Linked DNA regions of Homo sapiens: region 1 is linked to region 2. Evidence: promoter capture Hi-C in human tissues and cell types (Jung and others, 2019). All regions are on one chromosome and are shown on one strand. Each heading gives the region's core, a stretch centred on a gene start or on the middle of the fragment in contact. The rest is flanking DNA. Distances are from core to core; before and after follow the strand shown.

Region 1 (6,984 bases), core at 251-2,750, 290 kb before region 2:
CCCATCTCTACTAAAAATACAAAAAAATTAGCCAGGCGTGGTGGCGGGCACCTGTAGTCCCAGCTACTCCGGAGGCTGAGGCAGGAGAATGGCGTGAACCCGGGAGGCGGAGCTTGCAGTGAGCTGAGAGCACGCCACTGCACTCCAGCCTGGGCGACAGAGAGAGACTCTATCTCAAAAAATAAAATAAAATAAAATAAATAAAATAAAATAAAATAAAATAAAATAAATATAAGATATACACTGTTCATTGTATTGTCAGTATATTATGCATAATATGTAATACATATAATAATTATGTATAACTATTTATAATAATAAAGAACAAATCAGATCAGGAGTCCAAATTCCTGCAGACATATGTTGTAAATATTGACAACAGGTGCAGATTTATTTGTATTTTGTTTTGGATGCCTCTTCTTTCTTTGCCCTGGAACCCTCTATGACTTTCTTCTATTAGGTGAGTTCTATTTGTGTCTTAGATCACAATGCACCAAAAAACCTTCTTCCTGACCTTGACATTTGACTTTGATTTCACATCATCCATTTAAATAGGAAAATGGGAAGCTGGCACCAGTCAGATAAAGCCTGCACCTGGGCAGATTTGTACGGTGGGAGGAGGAGGCAATGTTGGCCATGGGCATATGGAAAAGATAAAAGCCAGATAAAAGCCGTTTTAACGACAGAAAATAACGAACATGAGGAAGAGTGGAAAAGAGAGAAAGGGTTTTTGTGTTTTAAATGCAAAGAAAAAGGTTCTTCAAGAAAAAAAACACACACACACATTCTTTTTTTTTTTTTTTCTTCTCCTGAGATGGAGCTGTCTGGTCAGGTTCTTCCAGATTAATCAAGTGTTTAAGTGGAGGGGCTCCTTGACATTTTGAAGTGAGTTGAGACTGAAGTGGTTTACCTCTGACATCAAGTGCTCAGTAGTGAATTTTTATACTTAATGGGATGCAGGGTCATTTCCCAGGAGCTATTTAGGGGACCTTTGTAGCTTCAAAATGTGATTCTACCCTCAGAAGTGCCTACAGCTGATTATTAACCATGATTCATAAATTCTTTAGAAGGTGATCAAGTTAAGTTTATACATTCAGACGGTGACAGGAAGCAGCCTTCTCTGCAGCTGTAAATACCCCAAACCACAATGACAGGGGTGTTTTAAATTGTTTTCTTCTTCACTGCCTTTTATCTGTACAACAGCCTTTTTGAAAAAAAAAAATACCGAATCCTTTTATACACATTTAGAATAGGCGGTGAAGGCAGAAATAAGAATGAGGTGGGAGGTGATCACTGGCCCCCACTCAGAGCTTGTGAATTACCAAATTTCCGGAAATCGCTGATGATGGCACCAAAAAATGTGAGGGACAAAAGAGACAGGAGACAATCGCCAATGGGACCGTGGGTTGCACGCCTTAGGCACTGAATACATCCAGCTCCACCATTTCACCCATAAACTGCCGACATCGCCTGTGTGGGGGGAGCAGAAGGCCTTGCGCGAACCCCCTCACCGTCTCCCAAGCCCACCTCGCCTAAGGCAACGGGCTGTTCCTGTCCCAGGAGAAACAGCCTTTCATTCCCTGGTCAAACAAATAAAAGAGGGCCCAGGCCAAACGCATCAACATTGGAATATGTATGTCACTTGTGCTTGTCACACGGGAACACTTATGAAAAACGCATTTGGAGTCCGGCTTATTCTTCCCTGGGTTTTGAGGGAGTGAACATGACTCTGCCCCAGCTGGGCAGGCTGGGCCAGGCTGAGTGCTTTCCGGAGCTCCCAACACACCCCTGGCCCTGCAAAGACATATCCTTTCATTTTATCATGAAACTACCGCGTCTTATTTGTGCAGTATCACATGTGTCCTGGATCTTGACCCAGAAGCCAGGAACGTCCAAAGTCTCACATTTAAATGTGACCAGCCATCATTTTGTGGATGGAAATTTCTCTTTGCTCTGGTCTTCCCTCTGTAGAGACTGAGGAAGGGCACAGCCACGTTTCGCTTTTAGAGCCCTGAAATGAGAGGCCTGATTATCTAAGGGTGAAGTGGTCATTTTAGTAAAGAAAGGCCTGTCTGCTGTCCACCCTGTGAGCCACTGTCCACCCTGTGAGCCACTGTCCACCCCGTGAGCCACTGTCCACCCCGTGAGCCACTGTCCACCCTGTGAGCCACTGTCCACCCTGTGAGCCACAGCACAGATGCCATGAGATAGCATGCAAATCATCAGGAACACGTTGGCTCCTTAGCTCAGAGGATACTTTAATAATAATCTTAGAAAAAGCAAAATATTAAGTTAATACCTACAGAGTTCTTTAATTTTGTGAGCTCCTCATCTTGCAATATTTATTTTGATCCAGGCTCCAGCAGAAATATTACTAAGCTGACAACTGAAACACTGGAAGTAATTTCAGAATTTTGTTACTAATCAATAATCTATATTAATAATATGGTTACCACTCATGTCTCCCTCTGATATTGGATGTTCTATGCAAAAATGACCAACGCCTTTCTTTGTTGGATTTGGTGATGATCCTTAGACTAGCACTATTCAATCTGTTATTAAATCTGTTGAATCTGTTTAATAGTGCTAGTCTAAGGGAACATCAAGTTGACATGACAGTGTGGTTTCATTCCTCTATGCTCTCCAATTAATTTTTAATAGAAATAAATTGCTGCCTGCATTGGGATTATCCAGAAACATCATTCAGTTGTTCCTCTTAGTGGTCAGAACCTTCGTGTTTACTCTTGTAGGAGGGTGTTACGGGCTGAATCATGTCCCCACAATTACTATGTAGAAGTCCCAACCCCAAGTACCTCAGAATGTGACTATATTTGGGGATAGGGTCTTTAAAGATGTAATTAAGTTAAAATGAGGTCATCTGGATGGACCCTAATCTGATATAACTGGTGTCCTAATTAGAAGGGGAAATGAAGACACAGACAGGTGCAGAGGGAAAAGTATGTAAAGGAATGAGGGGAAGGTGCCATCTAGAAGACAGGGTGCGAGGCCTCAGGAGAAACCACTCCTCTGACACCTCCATGTCAGATCTCCCGCCTCCAGGACTGTGAGACGAGGCATGTCTGTGGTTCAAGCCCCCCAGATTGTGGTATTTTGTTATGGCAGTCCTAGCAAACTCATGCACAGCATGAGTGATTTTACCTTTTCTTTTCTTTTTTTTTTTTTAAATACCTATAGATAACTCTAGCTACCTGTACTTTACTTTAAAGGTATTTTAGTGGAAACCTCAAATCAACACTCCCCTGTGACAGATACTTGTCCTCTGAGGTAGTCCTCACCGAGATTGCACAGGTTCTCGCCGAGATTGCAGACCTGGTGGCAGAGAAGGAGGATGAGCTGTAAGCCTAAGCCTGGCCGGTCAGCCCATGCAGGTGGGAGGGTGACGGCTCCACCAAGCCGCGGGAGACACTGAAGAACAGAGGGAATCACGGGGGCCAGGCCAGGCAGCAGGACGCATGAGACTGAGTGGCATGAGTTATTTTATAAGGCAATTCCCATGTCTAAATCTGAATATTAAATTCAGAGGGTGAAAAGCAAATATTACAAAATTAATCTGCTTAAAACAGAGTTATAAATCTTATTATATTTCCAGCCACTCTAGGTTCATGCCTGAGCAACAGATGTTAAGATTTGGGTATGAAATTGCTCCCACCTGATGTTTGGCAACCCCTAGGCTCTCCCAAACAGGACATCAGCTTCTAGGCCACACGTGCGTTTCCACAAAGGTTTTGAGGGGTGTGGTTTTGCATTCTGATGGGTCAACATTTTGAAGAGACATTCTGACCCAAATGAAGAAGACTAGGAAGAAGGTGCCCATTTATTTCACCCATAGCTACTGCAGGGTTTGGGCATAGGGATGCAGATGTGCACAGCCATGGCCACACCCCGGGTGAAACCTCCTAAGCCCCCTAGGTCCCCAACCCGAGGTCACCAACACCACAGAGAGGCCTCCTGGGGGTAAAGTGCCTACCCCATGTGGGCTTCCCAGGCTGCCTGCTCTGCCCCTGGCTCTCTGACCACCGAGGCACAGAGCATCTGTGCCCCACCCACGACAAGACTAAGTGGCCGCAGCTTTATATTCATCTCCCCTTCCCAACAGCACATATTCATTATAGGGGCATTTTATTGTTAGTTTAAATTAAATGTGTAGAGAGGAACTGGGGCCTGAAGGAAAGCAATTTTAGATAAAATATCCTGAATTTGGCAAGCATTTTTCAAAGCTTAATGAGGAATATTCAGGGTATGTAATTATAGAAATCTACTGAACTCATTCGCCTCCAAGGATGGAAAAGGGAGGGCTGTGGAGGAGAGCAAGGGGCTCTCTTCTGAGGTGGCCAGGACATCCACACTTGCTCATCCACACTCACCCATTCACAAACACACACTCATGTCCACACCCATAACCACACACTTATGCACACACACGTTCACATCCATACACAAGTACACACGCGTGTGCACACTCACACACACACATACTCTCGCATGCACGTGCACACATACTGATTTGCACCAGCTCACTCGCTCTGGGACACACACGGCCTTCAGGAAGAGGCCCTGCATCGCCACTGGTAAGCTTCACTCTGTCATCAAAGGAGCTGGAGGATGGTATCTGTTTCTCCTGAGACGTGGGCCCCACGCTGCTCCACTGGCTGTCCCATGCCTGGGGCCCTCCTGGGGCTCATCAACAGATCAGCTGTGTGAGTGCAAGACCCCCCCTTATGGTAAGAGAACCTCAGGTGCACGTTGTGTGTGGGGAGCCAAGGGATTGCACACAGCCAGATTCCAATCTCAGGGGCTCCTGGCTCACACCTGCAGAGTGATATGGTTGCCAATCTCTGTATTATCCCCGTGCATCCACAAGGCTGCAGCCAGAGGATGCCTGGCCGCAATGGGCCAGGTCCATACCAAGGTCCAGTTCCAAATGAGAGCAGTTCTCTGCAGGAGCACTCAGACCTCCAATGCTCTTCCTTGCTCCTCTTCTCTGAGCATTTCTTGATCCAACTCCTTTCTCTTTCTACCATTTCCCCACTTGCTACCAGCACCTAATTCCTTTAAACCCTGGGATTCCTGACCCAGTATCTCTGCAGAGGTGCTCCCTCCACCATAACAACCCCTGGGAGGGCCTCTTCGTTTCCCACCTCATCCCCATGACCCCACAACTGTCCTCTCTCATTCATTGCCCCTCCGTGTCATGCCTGGAGATCACAGGGTCTGAGGGAGCCATGCTTATCATGAGAGGATGTCCAGGCAAGCAATTGGCTGCATGGCTTCTGCACGGTTTAACAGGTAGGGCCCAAGCAGGTGAGAGACAGCAAGTAAGATGATGGCAGCTTGATGGAGATCCTCAGTGTATTAGTCTGTTCTCACGCTGCTAATAATGACATAACCGAGAGTGGATACTTTATAAAGGAAAGAGGTTTGACTCACAGCTCCACATGGCTGGGGAGGGCTCACAATCATGGCTAAAGGCGAATGAGGGGCAAAGTCATGTCTTACATGGCAGCAGGCAAGAGTGCGCATGTGCAGGGGAACTTGACTTTATAAAACCATCAGATTTTGTGAGACTTATTCATATCATGAGAAAGACCCAACCCCATGATTCAATTACTTTCCACTGGGTCCCTCCCATGACACATAGGAATTATGGGAGTTACAATTCAAGATGAGATTTGGGTGGGGAAACAGCCAAACCATATTATCCAGTGCTGATGATCCCCCAAGACTATTGAGTGACAGACAAGACCTCATACTTTCTCCTGACCAGAGCCTAAACCTCTGGAGAGAAGGTAGGCAGAGGGGAAAGAGCAAGCACACACTGTGGCTACAGGGCATAGTCCCCTGTGAATGGGGGAGTTTAGGGCTGGACAGAGGAACTGGCCCAGATGCGAGTGTCAGGGGTGGAGGAAATGACAACCAGGCTGAATCCCAAGGGTGAGGGTTGAATTTGGAGGTAGGGCCTTGCCTGAGCCCCATGGTCTGGGGTAGCGGAGGCTTCCTGGGGGTTAAGTTGCCCTAGAATGACTGGGGCTGGCAGGGAGACCTGAGCAGTAACTGAGAGAAGGCCCGTGAAGGCCTAGAGAAAAGGGGAGGCCTGGTGCAGGCCAGGAGAGAGCCTGGTGGAAGGGCAGGCAGGCTGGGGGCTGTTTGTTTTGCAGCAGAAGCTGAGGGGGAACCTGAGCATCTGCCTCCCATGCTTCCTTCCCCGTGGAGAGGAAAGGACCCGTTTCTGCATCGTAAGTCCCAGGCCTTGCTGTGTGGTTGCAAGTCCTCTTCCCATCCCAGGGAAGGAGAAGGACTTACCAAGGCAGATTTCAGAACCCAATCATGCTTCCTCTCTCTGGGCAGGATGAAAACGTACACCCCAGGCACCAAGAGTCCTGCAGGAGCTCAGGCAGGGCCACCTGGGACTGGATCCAGAGGGCAGCAAAGGCTGGGGAGGGTGGCAGAGTCAGGAGGCAGCCGAGGCCTCCACTGAGCCAGACGGCCCAACCTGGGCTCTGCACATAAGAAAGGGATGCTTGGGTGGCCATGCACCTGAATCCCGAGTGAGCCCTGAGCTGGTCTTGAGCCCGGGCACAAGCATATCCCCACTACCCTGCAGGGACAGAGCAGTCACTGGTCCACTGATGAGAGCAGTGTCATCAAAGGGGTAAAGACAGGAGGCAGGATCAATCATGAAATTATGATTTCAGGTTTCATGCACCCCCAGGGCCTTCAGCTGAAAGCTCCCTGCAGATGAGTCAAAGTGGAGCAAACTAAAGCCACGTGGAACCCACAGAGCAGAGGACACAGGAACAGGGAGCAGGCGGCCAGTCTGCAGGAAAGAGCATAAAACAAAAACAAAAATGACAAGGACAGGAGGGGCCCTAGGGGTCTGAGGAAGGCAGGAGGGAGGGGCTGCAAGAGAGAGGGGGCAGAGACCCGGAGAGAACCAGGGTCTGAGTCCGGAGCCGGCCCGAGCTC
Region 2 (7,572 bases), core at 3,958-6,457:
AGGCGGACGGGAGGGCTGCTAGGATCCGCGGCGTTCCCTCCTGCGGGGCCAGAGAGCTGCATGGGAAACACAGCGAGACAAGAAGACAGGGGCACTGTGAGTGGGGGACGCAGCGCCGGGCGACGCCGGTTCCAGTAGCGGAGCCCTGGGGGCGGGGTCGACAGCCAGCGCGGCTCCCGGCTGGGGAGAAACTCCAGTCTCCTCGGCTCGCCCGGCGCCCAGGGCTGGCGGGGAGCGCTCCTTCAACTAGGACTGCGCGACCCCCACCGCCACCCAGCCAGCTCCGCCCGGGTCCCGACCACTCCTCCTCCCCCCTCCCCACCGCCTTCTCCCATAGCAAAAGCAAACAGCACTCACTTGTCGCGTACCGGCTGGAAGGGCGACTTTAACTGCTGTGCCGGCGAATCTGGCCTGGGGACGAGGTCTCTCTCTGCGAGAGATCGGAAGAGGCAGAGTTAGGACGGAGAGACGGGCGGGAGAGGTCCCAGGCCTCCTTCCCACCAACTTCTGCCGGCTGCCCAGGCAGATTCGCCGAAAAACGTCACCCCTCACCCCACCACCACCCCGTAGCAGGCCCGCCGGTAGGGCAAAGCTCTCTTGGGAGAGCCCTAGGGCCTTGTCTGGCTTTCTAAATTGAAGCAGGGATTAAGCGCAGCCCCAGGGCTCAGCGGCCACTGCCTGGTACCCTCCCGGCTCATGCTGCACCCCACGCTACCACACCTAGCCAGGCCTCTGCATTCCCAGCTAGGGGACAGGTGGACGCGGCCTGGAGCTGTACCTGGGAGCGTGGGGCTGCTGCGGACCGAGGCCTTGTCTCCATTGAGTGCCCCCGGGGCAATAGCGACCGGCGGCTGCGGTGGTGGAGGTGCAGGAAGGTGAGGGCCATGGGGCGCGGCGTGGGGAGCGCCAACGCCCAGGAAGGAGCGCATGTTGAGCAGGGAGCCCTGTGCGAGGAATGCGCTGTTGGTCCAGTTGGAGAACTTGCCGATGTGGCAGGTGTACAGTCCGTGGCTAGGCAGGAAGGCGGGGTGTTGCAGCGGCGCCCCGGCGGAGGGCCCGTGCGCGCCGGGGTGGCCCGCGGGTGGTGGTGGCGAAGCCTTGGGCGCACCGTCGGGGCTCGTGGCTGTCTCCGCCAGCGACCAGATCTTGGGCTTGCCGTGCGGCGCACCCTGCAGGCCGCCCGCTGCAGCGCCGGGGCTCAGCAGGCGCGTGCTGCCCGGCTCTGGGGCCTCCTTTGCCAGGCCCAAGGGCGAGTCCTGGGGCTTGAGAACGTCGGCTGCTGCCAGCGGCGAGCCTTGGTCCCGGGCAAGAGCAGAAGGGGCTGCGGGCGCGTGCGGAGCCTCGGCCTTGTCCTCGTCATCCTCGTTGCTCTGGTCGCCATCGTGCTCGTCGATCTTGTCAATGTCGATGCTTTCCAGGTCGATCTCCTCGTCGTCCTCGGCCTTCTCCGGGTCGCCCTCGGTGTCGCTGCCGAAGAGCGCTCCATCTTCCTGGTCCTTGCTGCGCGCTCCCCATGTCACCTTGTTCTCCTTCTTGAGGCGCCGGCGCGCGTTGGCGAACCAGGTGGAGACCTGCGTGAGGGTCATCTTGGTGATGATGGCCAGCATGATCTTCTCGCCCTTGGTGGGGTAGGGATTCTTGCGGTGCTCGTTGAGCCAGGCCTTGAGCGTGCTGGTGCTCTCGCGGGTGGCGTTCTTGGGCCGCCCGGGGTCCCCGTATTGGAACTGGCCGTAGGGGTAATAAGCCGGCGCCGTGTGGGCTGCGAAGGTGGCGGGGTGCACCCCAGGGTTGTCCTTCAGTTCATACTGCGAGCCCTGAAGCCACAGGGCAGATCCATCGAGGAGAGAGAGGAGGGAAGTGGAGAGAGAAAGGGAGAGAGAGAGAGAGACATGAGTCCCCAAGACGGGAGAGTGGGAAGCAGCCGCTTCAATGGACTCGAGGGCCTCCCAGGCGCTTTGCGGGGCTCTCCTGTGCTGGGCAGATCAGGAAGTCACCCCCAGTTCACTGCTGGGGAGAAGGGGAGCCAGGACCATGAGCTGACTTCAGGAACTGCCCTTTCACCGACAGTGGAGATCGTTTTTGCCACTCTAGAAAAGTTCCACAAACAGTGCACTCTCCAGAAGAGCACAACAGAGGCCGCGGCCCCTGCAAGTTCCCTAGGCGACCCCTGTCCCCACCACCAACCGCTGGAGAAACCTGCATTTCCAAGTTTATCTTTCACTAGCTAGAGGGAAAAACCTTTCAACTGAGCTGATAAAGCCATTTCTCCAAACGTAAAGGGCCCAGAGCCCAAGCCTCCTCTCTGCCACCCAGAGGGGGCTCAATCAAAATAAACCATCCCGGGTTTTCTACCGGTCTAAATCCGCCAGCAATTTAAAACGAAAGCACAGTCCTTTGCCTTCCAAATTAATCTGCATATAATGGTTTACCCACATTAAAAGGTCTTTAGAGGTGACAGGTAATTTAAAATTTTAATCCCGGCCATCATCGACAACAATAACAAAAACACCATTTTTTTTTTTAATACAAAAGGAAGGCTTAGCCTGTAAAATATTAACGCAAGGGCTGGGAGCCACCGGCGGCCAGGAGGGGAACCGGTTCAGTATCCTAGGCCTCTTCTCAGTTACTTCATCTCTTAAGTTTGACTTTGATCTGGAGGGAGCAAACACTAGCTGTTTGCAGGCATTTAGAGGCGCTGATTTATTTGCAATCGATATTCTTTTTATAATCAGTAGTAAAACACAGCAAGTCAAATTATCCCATCAGGTTTTTTGGTAAATAACATTTTATCTTTCTAACAACCTCATTAGGCCTCATTATTACCATAAATTGCGCAGACAGACATTCAAATACAATTTTATCTTTTGACTTCCAAACACCCAATTATAATGGCTTGGAAACCTAGGCCTAGAATCAGGGTTTGGGTTTGAGTTTACTCTCTCAGAACCAGTGGGAGAGCTGGAGAAACACACACCTTTTGGGTGGGAATAATTTTTACATATTATCCCTCTAGGTGGGAAAAACAACTCAGAACAGCAAACATCTCCCTTCCCCAGCTCTCCACAAAGGGTGCAGGTCCTCACACTGAAGCTCTCTCCCTCCCCCGCAAACACAGGCAGGGTTCCCAAATGGCACACAACTGCATTCGCAATTTCTGTAAAAAATATTCATCCTCTGAAAAAATGGTCTAGTTGCAATGTTAGCAAAGGGAGTTCCGGACTCTGAGAAAGTTGTAAAGACCAGAAGATTTCTTGGACTAATTAGTTTGGTGACTGAGGCCGCAGAGAAAACATTTCTGCGGCTAGATTTCGTTTTTGCCCAATCGTTCCAAAATGTACTTTGCGCTTTTCTAATTATTTTGGTTGTAATTGTAAAGAAGACGTTTCAGCCTCGTCTCCACTGGGAATTCTTTTTGAAAGGACACCTTGTAAATCTCTCATCGCGTCCCGGCCTCCCCGCCGCCTGAACAAAATGGGGGCTGATCTTTTTCGATAGTAAGAGACCTGAAAGGCAGCCGGGCCGCTTTCTTTCAAAACTACAAGAAAAGTTACAGGGAAACCCGCTCTTTGCTTGTGCACACTTGAGGGGCGTTTACTCCCCGCTTCTCCTGCGGGGAGCGGGGAGATATCGCGGGTGCTTGGAAATTGCTTTATCCCGCGGGCAGCGACCCAGGAGGGGGCTGCCTCCCAGGGCCCCGCGCCCGCCGCACAATTCACCAGCCGTCCGAAGTTTAAGCACCGACCTTGCAGTCAGACCAAGGAAAATGGATGATTTGGACCGGCAGACAGGCCAATGCCCCCGCGGAGAATTAAGTGTGCAGCCGCCTGCCCCGACATCTAACGCCCACTGGGACGGGAGACTAAGAGGACACCATTTGTTTTAAGCCAAGGGACACTGTTTTCTTTAATCCTCCATTATGTAACGCAGGAAGAAAAGTGCTTTTCTTTCTGTGCAAATGAAATGAAAACTTGGGCAACTTACAAAAGTAAAATCAAACACCGTTTCAGACACCAGCACATTACTGCAACTTAATTTTTGTTTAATCTCAAATTCGCACTCACGCCGTGGAGAGACCTCTCCATCCCTTTGGACCTCTATTGTTAAGATTATTTTGATTGACTCTACCAGGCTTAGAAGGGGTCTGTCTGGCAAACTCGGATACAACTATCTCGGAGCTGCTAAAGAGGGAGAAAACCAAGTTTTCCAGACTCGGTTCGAAAACTAAAGAGGCCGCGCGAGTGGAACCCGCGGCCAGGAAGGGAAGTCCTGCTACGCTACGCCGGGCCGACCTGCAGGAACCCCGTGGGCCTGCCCGGGCGCCCTGGCCGAGCCAGGCGAGTTTGCCCCCGACCTCCAGCGCGGGCACCGCTCCACGGGCCTGCTTCTGCGGCCTCTCTGAATTCACTCGCTACCCGCTCCCTGGCCCGGGCCTTCCGCTTTCCCAGGCCGAGATGGCCCAGCCGTCACCCGCCCGGCCTCCCAGCCCTCTTGCGTCCCCGGGGGCCGCGGCCTCGGCCACCGGGAACCTGCCCCCGGACCTTTCTAGTTCCTCTTCCGGACCAGGTCCACCCGTAGTCTCTCCCTCCCGGGCGACCCGCCACCCTTGCCCTGGCGCGGGTGAGACAGAGGAGAAGCGGGGGAGGCCGGGCGCACTCACCATCTGCGAGAAGAGGCTGAGATCCGCGGCGTAGGGCAGGAAGGCGCTGTAGTTGGGCGCGCCCGCGTACGGCCCCGCCGCCGCGTACATGCCCAGCACCGAGGTGACTGCAGCCGCGCCTGCCCCGCCGCCCAGCTCCGCGGCCCCCGGTCGGCCCGACGAGGCGGCGGCAGCCGCCGCAGCGGCCGCGGCCAGCACCCCCGGGCGCTCGCCGCCGTAGGCGCCCGGCCCCGCGGCGCTCAGGTACTGCGGGTAGCCCAGCTGCGGGAAGGACATGTCCGCGGACTCGGCGACCGCCGCAGCGGGCGAGTATTAAAGGCGCGGGGAGGGAGGCGGAGGCCGGCCGGAGGGGGTTGCAGGGGGCGCCGCGAGGGGTCTAGGGAGGAGCGGGCGGCCGGCCGGGCGCGCTCGGGCGGGCCGGGAGATGGAGGCCGGTCGCGGCTCCTCTGCCCGGTGCTCGCAGGCGCCCGGCTCCCGGCTGCGCCCGGATCCGCAATCGCGCGCCGACTGCGGCGGCCGCCCTCCGCTCGGCGGCGGGGCTTTCAGACACAATTTGAAGTTGATGCTTTGATTGGCATCCCCTTGAGCGCAGGCCCCGCCCCTGGCTCCCCTCCCGCCCCCTCCCTGCCTCCCGCCCGCCCTCGCCGGCCGCTCCCGCCCCTCCCGCGAGCACGTGGTGCCCCGTGCCGGCCCGGCCAGCTACTCTCGCGGTGGGCGCGCGCGTCGGGGCGGCGGGGTGTGGGCCCGGAGGCCGTGGGCTCCTTCCCGACCAGCCCCCGCAGCTGTCTGACAACCTGTCGACACGGGTTTACAGCTGTCTGACACCGGGTTTGCAGTTTCGCGGCCGAGGTGTGTCCCCTTTTTAACAAAAACAACTTGGCGCCTGCTTTTCTACTGTTTGGGCAGCGGGGAAGGGGCCGGCGGCCTGGACGCTGGTGACAGCGAGGGGGGAGCGGCCTCTCCCCCGAGTCCCGCGCGGCCGGGGCCTCCAGGGGACATCTTTGGCAGAAGTGCACCCGGACGCTCTCCGCGAGCCACTGAACCGGCGTGGCGTGACACCCCCGACTCCAGATGCGGGTTCCCGTGGGCCCCTACTGGGTAGTAACCGATCGTCTGCCAATGACCGGCCTCGCCGCCCTTGGGGAAGCGGGGAGCGGCCGAGCTCTGCGGGCTCTTTCAATTGTGCAAACTTTGAGCGAGGGCAAATCCCGCGGAGAAGTCGCCAGCTCGGGGGAAGCAGGCGCAGTCGGCGCCGCGGGTTCTCGGAGGGAGGGGTGGGGGAGACGCGGGGGGAGGGGCTTTCTCTTCACCCAGAAAGCCCCCTGGCAGCCGGAGGGAAACATCCCCCGCGCCCCCGCGAAGGGGGAAGACGGTGTGGCCTGGACGCCCGGTTTGTCCACCAGGTGTGCAGAGGCAGACAGGAAACTTGTGTGGAACGCGCGAACCCGAGTCGGCGCCGCCGCCAGACCGGCAACGGAGCGGCCTCTTGGGTCCAAGTCCCGCGTCCCTCTTCTCCCTGCGTCTCCCCTCTCCATCCTCAGCCTCGTCGGGCTACAGGACGCGGCCAGGCGCGGCGCACTTGAGATGGGCTCCGTTTCGCCGCGGCCCTGGCCGTGCGGCTCCCGGGAGAAGATGCCAAGTGCACGGGCCTCCTCGCCTCCCTGAGCCTGGGAAGGCGCTGGCAGGCCACTTCTGCGCCTCGTGGCTGGAGAGCTCCGGACGGTGCCGTGGGGAACCGGGTACCAGTCCCGGCTCCCGGGGCCACTTTGCGAACCACCTCCTACGCAGAGACGGGGCCGGGAGTTCACCCCGCTGCGGCTCTCCAGCACACCGGACTCCGCGGGAATTTCAGCAGCGCACTCTGGCGTCTTCTCGGCTTTAGGCCGGGTTGGGGCTACGGGATGAAGGCGGCCATCGGGCCAGAGTCGGCATGCTGTTCTGCTGGTGGTTTGAGCCACCCGTATCCTGGACACCGGCCAGGCGGTCCCTTCACCCCCTGCCTCGCTTCCCTCTCTTCACGGAGCCTCGAGGCCCAGGGACTTCAGCAGCATCAGGAGGGGCTCCGGTTTTCCGGGCCTGAGGACAGACACTGAGACATCGCCTATAATTAGCAACAATAATGCCCGTGATGGTAGTAATTACTAATAACCAGCTCCGACATCGGGCTTGATTTTTCCCTGCTCTGAGTCAGATTGTCTTGCTAGTCATGCTGCTTCCCGCGCTCAATTCGCCCCTCCACACTCCAGGATCCGCCTACAACCTCCAGGGTTCCTTTCCTGCTTTTACATAGATTCCGGGCTGGGTTTGTGGGGACGCCGAGGGTTGGTGGGGAGTGGATTCTTGGTGACACAAATCCGGGAAGCCCCTAACTGCAGCTTTTTCCTGTTCCCCAGCCTACCACCAGACACCTTCTAACCCTAAGACAGATTTCCGATCTTCAACCTCCTCTCCTCTATACCCAAAACAAATCCATCCATTGCCTGTGACTCACTGTGTGAGAAGTGGGCCAGTCCCACCCACCCCTGTCCTGTTCAGCAAACTACAGTGTCACATTTCAGGTTGACAGGGGAGATACGCCCTCTTGAGTGACCTGGAGAATGAGGTGGGATGTAAGTCCAGGGACACTTCTCAGCCTTGGGATTCAGCTACAGCTTATCTGCCTCCATCCAACCCACTGAGCACCACCGCCCACCCCACCCGCAAGCCTCAGGTCTCTCTGCAGCTGGCAGAGCTCTGTGGGGAGGCAGGAATAGGGGAGTGGAGGCTTCATCCTAACTCAACCAGCCCACTCCTCTGTGCCCCGGCTGCATCACCTCCATTGGCATCACATCACAAAGTGATTGCAGGCTCCTCAAAACACCAGGGAGCTGGGTGGGGAGGAGCTGGGTGGGGAGGACCTGGCTGGGCCCCACCTG

The links. Contacts are between HindIII fragments. The study calls those that stand out against the background at their distance.
Region 1: a contact is called between a fragment that was not itself captured here and the fragment with the promoter of IRX1 in region 2, in 2 of the 25 tissues and cell types used here (H1 embryonic stem cells and spleen).

What each region holds. Positions count from the first base shown.
Region 1 is chr5:3,880,889-3,887,872 of GRCh38, reverse strand. No RefSeq gene overlaps it. Among named protein-coding and RNA genes, the nearest start is that of LINC02063, 250 kb to the left of the region's middle. The HindIII fragment of the contact is 5,833 bases long and covers 1-4,416 here.
Region 2 is chr5:3,593,467-3,601,038 of GRCh38, reverse strand. IRX1 (iroquois homeobox 1) reads right to left here and starts at 5,207. Exons shown (of 4, transcript NM_024337.4): 1 at 4,658-5,207; 2 at 779-1,814; 3 at 358-430; 4 at 1-56. The coding sequence starts at 4,933. RefSeq lists enhancers at 1-356, 1,020-1,681, 1,682-2,344 and a silencer at 5,210-5,504. The HindIII fragment of the contact is 23,247 bases long and covers 1-7,572 here.